Regions from separate parts of the Homo sapiens genome. Here region 1 is linked to region 2. The links are contacts of gene promoters, found by promoter capture Hi-C in blood cells and fetal thymus (Javierre and others, 2016). All regions are on one chromosome and are shown on one strand. Each heading gives the region's core, a stretch centred on a gene start or on the middle of the fragment in contact. The rest is flanking DNA. Distances are from core to core; before and after follow the strand shown.

What was found. Contacts are between HindIII fragments. The CHiCAGO score rates a contact against its expected background, and 5 or more counts as called.
Region 1: a contact is called between a fragment that was not itself captured here and the fragment with the promoter of MATN3 in region 2, in 6 of 17 cell types (monocytes, M0 macrophages, total B cells and 3 more). The highest score is 6.3, in monocytes.

The regions. Positions count from the first base shown.
Region 1 is chr2:20,109,515-20,112,214 of GRCh38, forward strand. The region is part of intron 2 of LAPTM4A-DT (LAPTM4A divergent transcript); the gene reads left to right. Among named protein-coding and RNA genes, the nearest start is that of LAPTM4A-DT, 59 kb to the left of the region's middle. The HindIII fragment of the contact is 2,474 bases long and covers 214-2,687 here.
Region 2 is chr2:20,011,333-20,014,032 of GRCh38, forward strand. It overlaps MATN3 (matrilin 3), which reads right to left and starts at 1,336. Exons shown (of 8, transcript NM_002381.5): 1 at 1,077-1,336. The coding sequence starts at 1,299. RefSeq lists an enhancer at 440-1,052. The HindIII fragment of the contact is 3,809 bases long and covers 1-2,700 here.

The DNA of each region.
Region 1 (2,700 bases), core at 201-2,700, 98 kb after region 2:
GTATCAAATCCCCTCCCTTTTTTTTTTAAGAATAATACTGTTTGTAAAAAATCTCTAATTATCATAGCATCCTAGAAGATCAGTGTGAGTTTTCCCATTTTGTAGCTGAGACTCCTGAAGCACAGAGAAGCAAAGTGACTCATCTCAGGAAAGAGTGCCAGAAACTGGCAGAATCAGGAATGGTACCTGGGTCTACCTGGTGTTTGAGTCATAAGCTTTCCATAATAATTTGCATCATAACTGCCTTTCTTAGTAAAAATGTTAAAGAGATTAACTTCCTTAAGAAAGTGAGTAGGAGAGTGTTCTGACAGCTTCTGACAACTGGAAGTCCCACTTTTTTTTTTTTTTTTTTTTTGAGACAGAGTCTCACTTTGTCACCCAGGCTGGAGTGCAGTGGCGCAATCTCGGCTCACTGCAAGCTCTGCCTCCTGGGTTCAAGCGATTCTCCTGCCTCCGCCTCCAGAGTAGCTGGGACTACAGATGTAAGCCACCATGCCCAGCTAATTTTTGTATTTTTGGTAGAGACGGGTTTTCACCATATTGGTCAGGCTGGTTCAGGAGTGACCATATTGGTCACTCCTGACCTTGTGATCCGCCCGCCTCGGCCTCCCAAAGTGCTAGGATTACAGGCATGAGCCACTGCGCCCGGCCTGGAAGTCCCACTTTCAAATCTCACTTTGAGAGATTGAATCACTTGATAGTCGGAAGTTTCAGAACCTGAGAAGGCAAGTTCGGAAGGAAGGATTGGACTTCCATTTTTCAATAAGAGATGCCTGAGAGGCAAGGGCTGTCCATTATCACTGTTCATGGGTATTCTGGTGATCTATTGCTATGTAACCAATCACCCCAAATCACAGTGGCTTAAAACAACTATAATCATTTTATTACCTCTCACAGCTCTGGGGGCTGGCAGGCCTCAGCTGAGTGCTTCTCACGCAGGGTCTTTCATGAAGTTGCAGTCTGGGGTTGGAGGCATATGGACAGTCTCCTCATTCACATGTCTGGTGGCTGGTGCTGATTCCCCTAATGGGGAATCATCAGCCAGAACAGCTGCCCGTGGCCTCTCTGTGTGGCTTGGGCTTCCTCACAGCATGGTGGCTGGATTCCAAGAGCAAGGGATACAAGATCACTGGGTAGAAGTGCATGGCATTTTTCTGACCTAGCTGTGGAAGTCACATAGTGTCTCTTTTGCAATGACTTCTACTCATCAAGGTAGTCATAAAGTTTCTTCCACTAAGGTACAAGGAGAGGCGACATATACCTCTCCTGGACTCAATGGGAAGAGTGTCAGGGAGAGCATGTGAGATGAGATATACTTTGAAAGTACAATCTGCCACATGGGCAGGCTCTCCTGGGAGAACTTGCCATTTGGAGGAAAAAGGTGACGAATAGCGAATGTAGGCTCTAACAAGGACCCCTCCCTGTAGTCATATCTGATGGTAGTTCCTTCAGGGAACTGGCCACAAGAGACACGGTTGGCAGCAAGATTTACTGCTCTGCCAAAGCTGTCATTGAAATAAATAGGATTAGGTCTGCAGTGACTTCATTATCCGGACTGCTCTAATAACATGTAATTTGCCGCCATGCTGTGACCAGCAAAGCCGCCAGGGCATATAGTGGGAATGCCTGGTCACCTGAGAAGGGGTTCCATCCCCTGGAAATCTTACAGGTCTTTGACCTTGTCCACAAGCAGACAGATCTTACTTCCTCCTCCCACCGGCTTCTTTTATGCAAACAAAAACTGGAAGCAATTTTGCTTTTGAAGCTCCTGAGTCAGCCGAAGCCCCAGGAAATGTCCTGGTTCTTCCCCCAGCCTCTCTCCCTGAGGTCCCCATCCCAAGCCTGAGAGCTCTGGAAATCCAGTTAAAACAGTTGAGAGTTTTCCTGCCAGACAGCACAAGTGTGCCGGGGCCTGGCTCCCAGGGGGCCTAGGCCCAGCCTCGAGGCAGGCTGATGCTCTGTGCTAGCCTCAATACAGTGCTGGCCCAGCCTAGCAAGCCCTGCTAAAGGGTGGCTCTGAAGATGTGGAGCACGGGCCCTGGGATGGTGGGAAGTCCTCCTGTGTAGCTGGTCCCATCCATCTCTCCCTGGCTCCCCGAGCAAGCCCTCTGCTAGCTTCTTCTGCTTCTGTCACCTCCAGCTCCTGTCCTGCTGCAGAAAGTACAGCCTCCTCAACCTGGTATCAAGACCCTCCCATGCAGGCCAACCTGATGCCATTCTGGGCCCACCTTGCCTGTGCAGTCAGGGGCAGGGCTGACCTTCCACAAAAGCCACAGAGCAGAGCCCTCCTGCACCACGTCTGTGATGCTGACACTCTCAGGCGTGCATTCTTCTCACTGGGGCTGTGGAGTGAGGCTACAAGTGAGCAGAGGGCTCAAGGCGGGGGCAGGGCTTAGGCCCTTGAGTTGGGGGCTACTGTGGCTGCCCTCGGATGTGAGTTCACTTCCTCTGGGCTGCCTCTCCTGACCCTACGGAAGCTCATCCCACTGTGGGCCCTTCTGATCTACAGAGCGTTCCTCTACCTAGTGAATCATCCCTGTGAACTCTCAGTACAGTGCAGTAATGAAATCCAGACATTTCCCCAACTCCTGGGCAGGTGACTCTACCCAAAATATCCAGAACTACAGAAATGCTAACAACTGCCACCATTTATGGAGGATTTACTGTATGGCAAGTACAATACCAAAAGCTTTATTCTCA
Region 2 (2,700 bases), core at 86-2,585:
AACCAGCCACCAGCTGAATCTAGCCCTGTGGACCCCGGTACCTCCTGCCTTAGCAGCAATGCTTTTGCCATTTCAAATCTGCCACTTCAAATACGGGGACTGAGTATTTGAGTCAGGAAAGAGTCCCTTGAGCTCCTTCTCAGCTTATCCAGAAAGATGCAGAAGGGGATAGACAATTGAAATCAGCCTGAGGCATGCAGCGTGGCTGGCCAAATGAGACTGCATACCCAGAAATGGCCTGGCACAGACTCTTTTTAGCAAGACTGAAGCTGCGCTTTTTGGAAATGAAGATACAATCTTATGTAAACCATATTAAGAGGTTGGTAGGCTGGGGCAGTGGAAAGAGACCTTGCTTGGGATTTCGGAGCCCTGAATTTTATTGTGGCCTCTGATACTGATTCACAGAGTCCCTTCAACTTGATATGCCTCAGTTTCCCTTCATGTGCTGTCAGGGGCTGTGTCAGACGACCTGCCCGCTTCGCTGCACTATGAGCTTTGCTCTGCTTCAGGAATCAATTGCTGACCAAAAAGAGAAATAGAATTGTTCGCCAAAGACCCAGAGTGTCTTGATCCTGGGGTATCCTACGGCTCCTCGGATCTCCTCCTGGTCTCACACCCGCATCCCTTACCTTCCAGTCTGAGGCAGCCTGAGGACTGTGGGAGGGGAGGAAAGATCACGCCCTGATATTGGATGGAGATGGAGAGATTCCAAGAGAACTAACAGCAGAGTCTCAGGAAGGGTTTGCTCACTGAATGGAGAGGTCAGGACTGGGACGGAGCTTAGCAGCAGCCGCTGGGCAGCAGCCCCTGCGCTCCCCAGCTGCCCTGTGCTCCTGGCCGAATCACAGGGGAGTGAGAGCTTCAGGAGACCCACATCTCTAGCCTGGACACATGAGTGATATTGGGCATCTCCCTCCCCTTCTCTGGACCTCAGTTTCCCCCACAGGATTCATCCGGGAGGGGCCTCTTTCCCCCGCACCACGGTCGGCCTGAGGCCGGGATGAAGCGCGCTTGGTGGATGCCCTGGGCTTCTCCTCGTTCGATGCTCACGCGTCCCTCCCGCCGCCCGCCTGTACCTGCACCGCGGGCGCGGCCAGGCTCGCTGGTCCCGGAAGCGGGCGCGCCGTCGGGAGCCGCAGGAGAGGGGCGGCGTCCAGGGCTGCCCCCGGGACCTCGGGTCTCCAGCCTCCGGAAGCCCGGGCGGGCCACGGGGTCGGGGGCGGCGGAGGGCAGCAGCAGCAGCGGCCAGAGCAGCAGGAGGAGTCCCGGGAGGCGGCGCGCGGGGGCCGGGCGCGGCATGGTGGGCTCCGTGGGCCTGGTGGTGTCCGTCGGGGGCCAGGAGCCCACGCGAGGCTCGGATTTAAAGGTCCCGCGGCCTCGGGCCCCGCCCCGCCCCGGGGCCTCGAGCGCCAGGCCGGCCCGGCGAACCCCGCCCAAGGCCAACAAGGAGCCTTGTCCGCGCATTCCAGCGGCAGAAACGGAATGTCTGGGCGAGGCGGCCAGCGGCGCGGTGGTCACCTCCCGCCCCTGCCCTAAGCCCCGAGCCGGCTGCAACTGGGTGGGCTCGGCTGCTGTCGCAACCTCCGTCCTCCCAGTAACACCGGGGCAGGGGGGGCAGCCATCCGCGGCTGCAGCCTGCCCGGCCCTCCACTCTCCCTCCCACCCCAGCGGGGCCTGCGCCCCAGGTACGGGATGGGGACCCCTGGGCTCTGCTTTCCCTTCTGCCACTGGTTTGCCCGACTGGGGCTGAAGATGAAACCCTGCTCCTAGCTCTACATTCCTTTCCTCAGCCAAGTAACCCAAGTTTTGCTGTGGGCTCTTGTTTAAAAAAAAAAAAAGAAAGAAAAGGCCTCACAGATTCTAGGGGCATGAATAGAAACGCTTTCATCCGAGCTTCAAATATCCACAAACATTTGAACTTATATTACCGGGAATAGAAAGTCAAACATACATTCCCCAGAGAGCCCCGTTAGCTGGAAGGACAGCCTGTACCAACACAGGCTTCAAAGGCTCTCCCGAGGCCCCATTTCCTCTCCGGAAGAGTTAGCATGGTACAGGGCTGGAGGCTGCCAGGGGACCCCCATGGAACTCACTGTCTGTGAGAAGGAGATTTGCATAAATGTGGTGTCTGTCTACGGGAATGTGGTGGATTTAGGAAAGAGATACTGACTGCCTGCGGAGACCAGGAAGACTTCTAAAACCAGGTGACATTTGAGCTGCGTCTTAAAACAATGGGCGCGAGTTCCAACAGAGCCTATCTGGTCGTCCTATTTCACTATTTTCCCTCTACAAGTGATCCTCCTCACACGATCCTAAACCTCACTTCTCATATTTGTACCCCATGCTGGTAGCAGCATTATACACAATAGCCAAGAGGCGGAAACAACCCAAGTGTCTCTCTTTGTGTGAATGGAAAAGCAAAATGCAGTATCTACGTACAATGGAATACTGTTCAGCCTTAAAAGGGAGGAAATTTTGGCAGATGCTACAAAATGGATGAACCTTGAGAGTATTATGTTAAGTGAAATAAGCTAGTCACAAAAAGACAAATACTGTATGATTCCATTTACATGGGGAATCTAGAGTAGTCAAATTCATAGAGACAGAAAGAATGGTGGTTAACAGGAGCTGAGGGGAAGTGGGGATGGGGAGTTGTATAATGTATCAATGACATTGGGCAGTGATAGTCACACTGAGGGA